4 separate regions of the Homo sapiens genome follow, and regions 1, 2 and 4 are each linked to region 3. The links are contacts of gene promoters, found by promoter capture Hi-C in blood cells and fetal thymus (Javierre and others, 2016). All regions are on one chromosome and are shown on one strand. Each heading gives the region's core, a stretch centred on a gene start or on the middle of the fragment in contact. The rest is flanking DNA. Distances are from core to core; before and after follow the strand shown.

Evidence for each region. The method cuts DNA at HindIII sites, captures the fragments that hold promoters and counts their contacts. A CHiCAGO score of 5 or more calls a contact.
Region 1: a fragment that was not itself captured here is called in contact with the fragment with the promoter of UMOD in region 3 in 1 of 17 cell types (endothelial precursors); the score reaches 5.2 in endothelial precursors.
Region 2: a fragment that was not itself captured here is called in contact with the fragment with the promoter of UMOD in region 3 in 1 of 17 cell types (M1 macrophages); the score reaches 5.9 in M1 macrophages.
Region 4: the fragment with the promoter of ACSM1 here is called in contact with the fragment with the promoter of UMOD in region 3 in 2 of 17 cell types (M1 macrophages and M0 macrophages); the score reaches 6.0 in M1 macrophages.

The regions. Positions count from the first base shown.
Region 1 is chr16:19,956,351-19,959,123 of GRCh38, forward strand. No RefSeq gene overlaps it. Among named protein-coding and RNA genes, the nearest start is that of GPRC5B, 73 kb to the left of the region's middle. The HindIII fragment of the contact is 2,225 bases long and covers 392-2,616 here.
Region 2 is chr16:19,932,802-19,935,501 of GRCh38, forward strand. No RefSeq gene overlaps it. Among named protein-coding and RNA genes, the nearest start is that of GPRC5B, 49 kb to the left of the region's middle. The HindIII fragment of the contact is 201 bases long and covers 1,160-1,360 here.
Region 3 is chr16:20,351,313-20,354,012 of GRCh38, forward strand. It overlaps UMOD (uromodulin), which reads right to left and starts at 1,403. Exons shown (of 11, transcript NM_003361.4): 1 at 1,377-1,403. The HindIII fragment of the contact is 11,139 bases long and covers 1-2,700 here.
Region 4 is chr16:20,696,232-20,698,931 of GRCh38, forward strand. ACSM1 (acyl-CoA synthetase medium chain family member 1) reads right to left here and starts at 1,449. Exons shown (of 14, transcript NM_001318890.3): 1 at 1,405-1,449. It also overlaps a transcript of ACSM3 not described here. The HindIII fragment of the contact is 2,330 bases long and covers 540-2,700 here.

The sequences.
Region 1 (2,773 bases), core at 254-2,753, 390 kb before region 3:
CGTGTATACCTATGTAATAAACCTGTATGTTCTGCACAGGTATCTCAGAAGTTAAAGTATAATAATAAAACAAATAATAATTTAAAAAAGCAGAAGAAAAAAAAGAATGCAACCCATTTGTCTCTCACCTACCTGTGACCTGGAAGCCCCCTCCCTGCTTGAGTTATCCCATTTTTCCAGAGGGAACCAACGTATAGTACATCTTACATGTATTGATTGATGCCTCATATCTCCCTAAAAGTAAAAAACCAAGCTGTGCCTTGACCACCTTGGGCACATGTTATCAAGACCTCCTGAGGCTGTATCTCGGGCGTCTGTCCTCAACCTTGGCTAAATAAACTTTCTAAATTAACTGAGACCTGTCTGAGATTTTCAGGGTTTGCAGGTTTAAAGCTTGTCTTAGGTTAAAAGAAAGGTAGAATAAAACTGATGGTTTAAGCAAGTTGAAGAAGGTTTGTGACAAATTAATATTATTAAGAAAATTCTGTGTGTGAGCAAGTTGGCTAAAATTAAGATTATTATTTAGTTTTCCCATAAATTACACATTAAAATAAAATCATATTGATGCAGGGCCAGAATTTGGGCCCATGTGTCAGAACAACAGGGTTTTCTTGGAGTATTGATCTGTTCTTTAACAAAAAATTATAAAGGGTTATAAAAGGTTTATAAAATTCTTACCTTATGGTCAAATGGGTTACAATTCGATAGATTTCCTTATAAAATTTTATTAAAATGAACTTTAGCATTAATACACTAATGCAGAGGTAGCATATGGTTTTCCCTTTTAAGCAAGATTTTCATTTGCCTGCAGGAAAAAGGGAGAGAGAAGAGACAGATTCAGCTGGCTTCATGCTGTCTTTTTTGGTTTTTGTTGTTTGGAAAGCTGTCTCCTCTCTATAAAAGACTAATGGAGTTTTGCTTTTTTGAAATATTTGAGTTAATCACTTTGACTAAAATAAACTGTGGTTCTATTTTGTGATGAAAAGTGTTTTAAACCTTTGATATTTGATTAACTTTTCAAAATCATACTCTAATCTTTTTTTGACTTGATTGACCTTTTTAGATATTAGGTTCCCTGAAGTCCAAAAGAGACGTATCTAGCTTATTTGGTACATAAAAACTGCAGGAAACATTGTCAAATATAAAACGGTGTTTAACTTTCTTTGGGTTATATTTATATGTTATTTGTATGTATCACAAAATTATATAAAATTCCTATAATTCTAATATATCTCAGTATTATGTTGTTAATAATTATGATTATTATGTTAAATGACTGTGTGCCACAGAGATGACCAGATTTCCTTGTCAATTGCATCTTTAACTGTGGCTGCCCTAAGACTTTTGTCCTCTACAGACAATCGTCTTGTTTTGATCTCATTCAAAAGACAGTTTATAATCAGCTAGAAGACTCTGACAGGTACTCTTGAATTCAGGTCTCTGATAACTTTGAGGATTGAGTCATTAGAATAGAGGGAAAAATTTCCAAGACTCTCTTGGGGAGGTAATGTGTTCATAAATATTGAGCAGACCAGAAGTTAATTGCACGGACCAAACTAATAAAAGATTTTGCTTGAAATGTTGCTGGTCCTTTTTGTTTTGTTTTTCAGAGTCAAGAACACTTTTTTTTCTTTTGAGCTACTTTATAAGTTTTAACAATTGAGTAAAGTACGCTCCTGTGAACAAATTTTCTCTGCCTGATTTCTCTATTTTCAAATAGAATTTGAAAACTATTTGTGAGTATTCTTAACTTATGGCAACATAGTTATTTGCGTAAGTGCAATAAGAATCTGTTTTCTTTTATAATAGGACACACTTGGAGACAGTGGTTATTTTACCCAGGCTTTCACTGAAATGACATGCTTTCACATATAAGCAGACTGCTTTAGGGAATCAAAGTTGACTTACAGAGCTGATAAATCTCCTTGGGAGAACTGGTCTCATACCTTGTCTACATAGTCCCTGTATAGGGTACCTAACTGTGGTAAGTAAAGAACATCACTTTTTTTTTTTGAGACAGAGTCTCACTGTCACCCAGGCTGGAGTGCAGTGGCATGATCTTGGCTCAGTGCGACCTCTGCCTCCTGGGTTCAAAGGATTCTCCTGCCTCAGCCTCCCGAGTAGCTGAGACTACAGGTGCCTGCCACAACACCTGGCTAATTTTTGTATTTTTAGTAGAGACGACGTTTCACCATGTTGGCCAGGCTGGTCTCAAACTCCTAACCTCAGGTGATTTGCCCGCCTCGGCCTCCCAAAGTGCTGGGATTACAGGGGTGAGCCACCATGCCAGGCAAGAACATCACTTTCTAACGGGCCCAGAAGCCCCCGTTTATCTTGGGACCTCCAGAAGAGAGGAATTCACCCAACTCATATAAGTATTTGCAGGCACAGATAAATATGTGACTGGGCTCGAGGCTTTAAAAAGTGTCAAATCTGATATTCCTTATGGAAAAAGTTCTAGGAAAGCCAATTTAGAAGACGGTCTGTATGGGAAATAATTATTTTTGTTGTACCTTATGCAAATAATCAGGCCAAGTATAATAAGATCAAAACTTGTTTTGCAAATTGGTCCTGCTGTGATTTGCCACTGATAAAAATGAAAGACTGGATAGAGAAAGCTTATAATATACCTGCTGTTAGATTCTGTTCTTGTTCATTGTTTTTGTTCATTGTTTTTGAGTTGAAAAATTATTTGCTGCTATTTGGATTGAATCTTAAGTCCTTTCTGGGCTACAAGTCTCCAAACTAATGTTTTCAAATTTTTCTTCCATTT
Region 2 (2,700 bases), core at 10-2,509, 420 kb before region 3:
ACCATTCATGTTAGTTTTCTTTTCTTGTTCCTTTTCTCCATTCATTTCTTCGAAGCTGGGTTTCCTGACCCAGGAGAATATGGACAGGATTTGTGGGGGTGGGACTGGGAGATCTCAGAGCTTTCTATGGTACCTTTTGTATCCTTTGATAGGTTTGACTCTTGTAACAGCTCCAGGAGGTAGGGTAGGTGTCATCTCCATGTAATGAATAAGAAAAGCAAGGCCCAAAGGGATCAAGAAACTTACCAAGGAGTGTCCAGCAATGAGGGTGGAGCCGTGCCTAGACCCCAAGCCTCCTACCTCCCACCTATTGTTCTTTATATAGCAGTGGTTCTCGACTGGAAATGTCCACCCAAGGGGACATTTTGGCCATGTCTGGAGACATTTTTGGATGCCACAATTTGGGGTAGGTGTGCTACCAGCATCTAGTGGGTAGAGGACAGAGGTGCTGCTAAATGCCCTACAGTGCACCAAACAGCTCCTAAAACAAAAATTGGTCCAGCCCTAAGTGTCATTGATGCCGTGGTTGAGAGATCCTGTTCTATACTCGCTTCTTAACTTTATACTGATTATTCTAAAATAATAATGCCTGACATTTTTAAATCATTTACCACGTTCCAGCCGCTGTTTGAACATTTACACCTGTACTTGTATAAACCCGTTTCATCCTCAAACAATCTCAGAAGTAGGTCATAGACTATCCCTATTTGATAGTTGAGGAAACTGTGGTACAGAGAAGTTAAGTACCTTGTCTAAGGTCACACAGTTAGTAAGAGTTCGTATCTGAACCCAGGCAGTCTTGCTCCGGAACCCAAACCCTTAATCTCTCTATTTTGCTGATAACAGAGAAGGAAGGGAATTGGTTATGAATGAATTCAGAAATAAGCCCATCTCCTTTCTCAGAGGATCAGAAAATGTAGTGCAGGCAGTATTTGCTGTTTCGTCTGCCCAGTACTCCTCCCTTCTTCTGGGAATGCTTCATTTTTCTCCCACCTCCAGTCGCTGCCAACCTTCCTTTGTTGAACTGCGTTTGCTATTCTTCCCTATTCCATTCCCACCTGAGGATTCTTGTGGGGATTGTCAATTTCAGGTTTCACCCTCGTAGCCATAGTTGATTGGCCCAAGGGTGAGCACATGACCTCCCATTGGACCAATCAGAAGCTTTCTCTGGGATTCTTTTTGAAGGAGAGGTGGGAATGCAGCGGCAGTCTCTTTTTGTGATTGATAGTGCAGAGTGTGTGTTAGAAACAGGCCCAGAGAAGCAGGAATGCGAGAGTTAGGACAGAGACCCCAGAAAGTATTAGAATGTCCAAGTTTGGTTGTCCCCAGATACTACCCTACCTTTCCCAAGATTGATGAAAGCTTCCATTATATCCTATTTTGATACATAGTCTGTAATTTCTTCCTGTTTGATTTCGAGATCTTCTCTGTATTTAGCACGATGTGTCTGGGTGTGAATTTAATTTTTTTTATCCTGCTCAGGACTTGACTGTGACATGTTTTTCAAGGATTAGGAAAGTCTCAGCCATTTTGTCTCCAAAAACTGGTTCTTTTCAACTGTTTTCTCTAGTCTCTCCTCTTTTGTATTCCTGTTAGATTTTGAAGTATCTCATCTACCTACCTACCTACCTACTTACCTATTTATCCATCCACCTGTCACATTTCTATCTCTTTATCTCCCTGAGCAGAAGGCTCTCAAGTGAAGAGATGGATACAGAGATTGGATATAATGTCTCACTTGGCTCATTTTCTTTCACAATATTGTGGCAGCTTCTCTCTTCGTAGCTATGAGTTTTCTATAATGGAAGATTTATTGCCTTCACTTGGTGTCGACCTCAGGGCCTGGTTATGGTGGGTGGTGTGGCAGGTCATCACCTTGTGGAGGGTTTGGGATGATGGAGGACTTGGGATAATGGAGCCTCTCGAAGGCTTTGGTTGGAGATGCCATTATCCAACTTTGCTGAACACTTATACCTCCTGTTTTCTAGTGAATTGCCCCCGTATGGTTTGCTGCCTTATATGTTTGTATATATATATCCTGCCCATAATTACCTTGCAAGGTTTTTGGTTCTTCTTCTCCCTTTGGTTTCCTCCATAGTGCCTGGGTGCTGGGGGGCATTTGGAATATAGCCAGGACATGTCCTTTCCTGATCATGGGGGTTGTGGGGAGGTGGTTGATCCAGCCGGTGTGGGATTTTGAGGGGCCACTCTCCTTTTTGAGAGGCTAACCAGAACACAATTTGCAAGGTTTCCATGACATTTAGCAAACTTGAGGTTATTGGCAATCCTCGCGAAGAGCTGTTTTAGAGACTGCAGCAGGATTGCAGGGACTGAGAAGTGAAAAAGATAGAGAAAGTACAAATACATTAGGCTCCTTTCTCTGAGAAGCTTGGTTGCAAAGGGGCAGTGCATTTTGTGGTTTAAGTTGCATTTCGTTAACCGTGAATGAAGTAAACCCTTTCCACATTTTGTTAGTCATTTGGATATTCCAGATGTTGTAGTTTAAAGTAGAATGTGCAGCGAGAGCCTTACTGAGAAAGGGACATTTGAGCAAAACTTTGAAGGAAGTGAGGGAGATGATTCGGGACAAAGGAAGGATAGAGTGAGGGGAGTCAGGATCTGGGGCACACAGGGGACTCTGTTCTATATGGGAGGAGGCTCTGGGCACAAGATAGGGATCAGCTTGTTAAATTCTCACAA
Region 3 (2,700 bases), core at 153-2,652:
AAAGAAGTGGCTTGAGACGAGCAACTTGAGAGGTAATTAACCTTCACAATGCATTTAAATGTTTCTGGAGTGGTCACTTACTATTTCTTCCAATTGGAAAAATAGTCCAGGGTGGATGCCAGTATTACCCCAGTGTTTATAGCAGCAAAATAGGGTGGCATGTTGGTTAAGTATGTAGGAGCTGCAGCCTGCACCTGAGGTTCAAATCCCTGCTTTACTGATCACTAACACTGTGATGTGGGTATTTCAGTTTACTAAGTCTCCGTTTTTGTCTGTGAAATGGAGATTGTTGCTTTCACAAACTGAATATCTATGATGGGCCAGGCTCAGTTCAAAGACATTCATGTGCTCAAAGGCATTGGGTCCTAGAGCAACGTTTTCCAGATCTTCGTGACCATGATGTACTAAAAGAAAAACATTTTATGTTGCCAGGTGCAGTGGCTCATGCCTGTAATCCCAACACTTTGGGAGACTGAGGGGGTGGATCACAAGGTCAGGAGTTTGAGACCAGCCTGGCCAGCATGGTGAAACCCCATCTCTAATAAAAATACAAAAATTAGCCGGGCATGGTGGTGGGCGCCTGTAATCCCAGCTACTCGGGAGGCTGAGACAGGAGGATTGCTTGAACCTGGGAGGCAGAGGTTGCAGTGAGCTGAGATCGTGCCACTGCACTCCTGCCTGGGTGACAGAGAGTCCATCCCCCCCCCCCAAAAAAAAAAAGACAGAAAGAAAGAAAAACATTTTATGTCATGATCTAGTGCAGTCGCTTCTGCATGTATGTGCACACACACATAAAATTTTATAAGACAATTGATATCCTTACTACATTAAGTGATTTAATTCTTACCACAACCCTATGAGATAAGTATTATCCTAGTTTGCAGATGAGAAAACAGGGGGACAAAGAGGCTAACTGCTTGCCTCAAATTTGTATTGCTTACTGACATATTCTATTATATTTAATTAAAAGAAGTCCCTGGATATAACCCACAAAAGGAATGATTTTATGACCCGCTAATAAGATGCGACCTAAAACACTGCATATTGTCACTGGGATTAACTAAGATGACATATGTCGAGCAGGGCCCAGCACATAGCAAGTTGTTCATTGTTGTAACCCTGGTACCTGGCACATAATAGGTGCATAACTAATATTCATGGAATAAGTCAAAAAATAGTAGTCATTGTTACTAGGACAGAGAGGATCAAAGAGAGGAAAACTAACTTACTAAAGATCATGAAGCCAATAATTGGCAGAATAATGACTCAAATCCAGGTCTGACCCCAGTGTCCAAGGTCTTAATTTCCTCTCCTACCTCCCTCAAATAGGATGGGGAGAAGCTGGGCTAGGAGAAGACAGCTACAGATAGCCTTACCTGAAGCCAGAAAGGTAGAGTTAGTCTGGTCATGATGTGCCTCATACTTATATATACACATTTGCCCCAGGCTGGCAATCTCTCCTCCAATTAGTCTCTAGTTCTGTTTTTTGATATTGTTTTCTTGGGGGTGGAATATTTTTTCCTCCTGGCATAATGTTTGCCTTGTCCAAGCTGTGAGGTTGTTGTTGTTCTTTTTCCTAATAGCTAGAGACCCCAAATGATTGACATTGGGGGGTCACACCTGTGCCCGGAAATACAAGGTCACTGTTTCGCACCTTCTAACAGCAAGAGATTCCATAGTTAGAAATTAACTGGGAAAGCAGTGCCAAGGTGCTGGGCTTCTTCTTGGTCACTGACAAGGGCAGGGTGGGATCAAGGAGCCAGGCAGAAGCCAGTATCTGAAGCCAGGCTGCATAAGGACAAAAGGGATATTCACTGCCCCAGATGGGAGGTGCACCTGTCTTGGAGAGGGCACCCTTCTGAAACACCCATTCTCATGAGATCAGCCTTAGAATCCAGACACAAGCAAGAGAGGAGCTGAGAATGGCTGAAAGTCAGAACCAGAAGGTAGTTCAGACATCACTGGACCTGACCCACTCTGTACAACAAAGAATCAGGTCTGATGACTGGGAGGTCCCTTTGGAGGCGAAATAAATTTGCACTTAAATAGACTGACTTTGGAGTCAGTCTGCCTCCTTTATCTGGTGTTTATTGTGTGGCAGTGGGCTCATTTCTTAACCTTCCTGAGGTCCAGAGGTCAATTTCCTTGTCTATAAAATGAGAATACCCATCTCCCACAGTAGTAATAGTAACCAAAGGAGATGATGCAAGTAAAGTCATATAGTAATGATTATATTCATGGAAGTAGTGAAAATTCTGCTTTGCTGTTGTGCAATCACTGAGGTAGAAAATGACAGAGCCTGAGTTAAAACCATGTCTTCAGACCCAGTTCAACATACATGACATTCCAAAAGTCAGTGTGAGAGTGGCTGTCATCATGTTGAGAAAAATAAAATATGTGTGAACTTGGGCTGAGCAGGAAAATATCACCATGATCACTGCATTGATCTTTTTTTTTTTTATACTTTAAGTTTTAGGGTACAAGTGCACAACGTGCAGGTTTGTTACATATGTATACATGTGCCATGTTGATGTGCTGCACCCATTAACTTGTCATTTACATTAGGTATAACTCCTAATGCTATCCCTCCCCGCTCCCCGCATCCCACAATAGGCCCCTGGGTGTGATGTTCCCCTTCCTGTGTCCAAGTGCTCTCATTGTTCAATTCCCACCTGTGAGTGAGAACATGCGGTGTTTGGT
Region 4 (2,700 bases), core at 199-2,698, 340 kb after region 3:
TGGTTGTTAAGTGATGCATGTCTCTATCTCTATCACTATCTCTGTCTCTATCTCTATCTCCGTCTCTGTCTCTGTTTCGATATCTATTTCCATCCACATCTGTCTTCAGATTTGACTTCACAAAGCTTAGTTTGTCTATTTCTCACCGTGCTGGACATAGTAAGTGCTCAACAAAAAGTTAGATTCTTCCCTTCTTTGTCATAATTCAGAAAACTGAGTGATGAAAGTCAGAAAGAGAAAAGCCAGTGTGCCCACAAATTATCTGAGTTATAGAAAAATGTATTTTTTCTTTCTCAAGTATTTACTATAGATGTACCATGTACAGTTTTAGATACTATTGGAGATTAATTAAACTGAAAGAGTTCCTACCCTGTTAGAGCATATCATTAAAGCACATCCTATGAAATCATTTTAAAGAACAATTTTCTGAACTGCTTAAAGTGCATTCTGAAAGCAATTTGACATGGTAGCTTTGAGAGGCAGCTGGGCTCCCCACTGTATTCCCAGATACATAGTGCCTTGAACAGCTCCTGCAACTAAGCTTTGACTTCACAGGACTTGGGACTGATAAAGCTATTTAATGAAGCAACATACTTACTGTGTTATAGGGTATCCCAGAGTTACAGAGCCAGGGCTAGATGTTTGTCTCTGTTGTCTAGCAGCTGGGTCTTTGGTGCTGTTCATGTCTCTGAACTTAAGCGCACAGTAGTAATACCTTCTTCCCAGCTCCCCATAAGGATTAGTGTGATAATTTACTTGCTGGCACTGAATGAAGTGCACGGTAAGGACTCAATAAATGTTGAGGTACCTTTTAACTCCCAGCAAATTCTGAAGCCAACCCCCTCCCCATTAGATGTTAACCATTTTTTTTGAAACTGTCACCTGGACTGGAGTGCAGTGGTGTGATCATAGCTCACTGCAGCCTCAATCTCCTGGGCTACAGTCATCCTCCTGCCTCAGCCTTTCAAGTACCTGGGACCACAGGCATGTATTACTATGCTTGGATAATTTTTTTTAGAAGGCATTCACTTTATAGAAAGTGAGCCAACTTCTGCATAGATAGAAAAGATTTCCTTCAAACATTCATCTCTGACTTTGTGCCTGTCTCCCACGGCTCACCACATTCAGAGCTGCCTGACACTAAACCAGTCCCCATTTACATGCCAGCCACTGTGCTAAACATATTACATGTACGTTCCTATTTATTCCTCTCACCCAATATCACCATTGTCATTTTGCCTCTAAAATGAAGTGCCAAGAAGTTAAGTGACTTGCCCAAGGTCACTCAACTTAAAAGTAGCATTGCCAGAACTTAAAATTGGATTACACACACACACACACACACACACACACACACACACACACACACACACAGATAGAAGCTGACCTTCACCTCTGTCTTACCTGGTACTGTTTAGGACGTAGCTGAACTAGGTCCCTGGTAGGTATGGAAAAGGAGGTTGAGCTCTCTTTTGTAGGTTCAGTTCTCTCTGATCAGGTGATCCGCAGGATTGTGCACCCAGCAGAACTTGGCTTCTGGCCACAGCGAAGGGGGACCTTGAACAGAGAACTTGTTAGGAATTGGGTAATTCAGTAGGGGGAGGAGATGCTCAGGTAAAATAGGACAGAAACAATTACAGGCCTCCACGGAGAGATAATCACTTAGAAAACAAACCATGTGGGCCGGGCGCAGTGGCTCGCGCCTGTAATCCCAGCACATTGGGAGGCCGAGGCGGGCGGATCACGAGGTCAGGAGATGGAGACCATCCTGGCTAACACGGTGAAACCCCGTCTCTACTAAAAATACAAAAAATTAGCCGGGTGTGGTGGTGGGCGCCTGTAGTCCCAGCTACTCGGGAGGCTGAGGCAGGAGAATGGCGTGAACACGGGAGGCGGAGCTTGCAGTGAGCCGAGATCATGCCACTGCACTCCAGCCTGGGAGACAGAGACTCTGTCTCAAAAAAAAAAAAAAAAAGAAAAACAAACCACGTATACGAAGTCACCTCCAATTCCGGTGGCATGGCTAGGGGTGTGAATGAACTAGATCCAATGGTGCATTTTCACTAGTTCTCTGTGGCTAACCTGCTCCCCCTTCCCAGCCCTACATCACCATAGTCTCCCTTAAATGACAGCTGAGAGTCAGTGTAGCCTAATGGATAAGAGCCTGGGCTCTGGAGGTCTGGAGGCAGAAAGGTCTGAGTTTGAGCCTTAGGTCTGCCACTTAACCTCCATGTCATCTTTGTGGACCTTCTTGCTCTGGGCCTCACCTCCCTTAATTGGTTTTCGGTTGCTTTTGAGACAGAATCTCATGCTGTCACCCAGGCTGGAATGCAATGGCATGGTCTTGGCTCACTGCAACCTCCGCCTCCCAGGTTTAATTGAGTCTCTTGCCTCAGCCTCCCAAGTAGCTGGGATTATAGGTGCCCGCCACCACACCCAGTTAATTTTTGTATTTTTAATAGAGACAGGGTTTCATCATGTTGGCCAGGGTGGTCTTGAGCTCTTGACCTCAGGTGATCTGCCCGCCTCAGCCTCCTAAAGTGCTGGGATTACAGGCATGAGCCACAGCACCCAACACCTACCTTATTTGTAAAATAGGAATGATAACAACAATACCTACCTCCCAGGGTGTTTTCTTTGCTTCTTCATTTGTTTGTTAGAACTAGATGAAATAATTTATAAAAAGCATGTAGCACACGG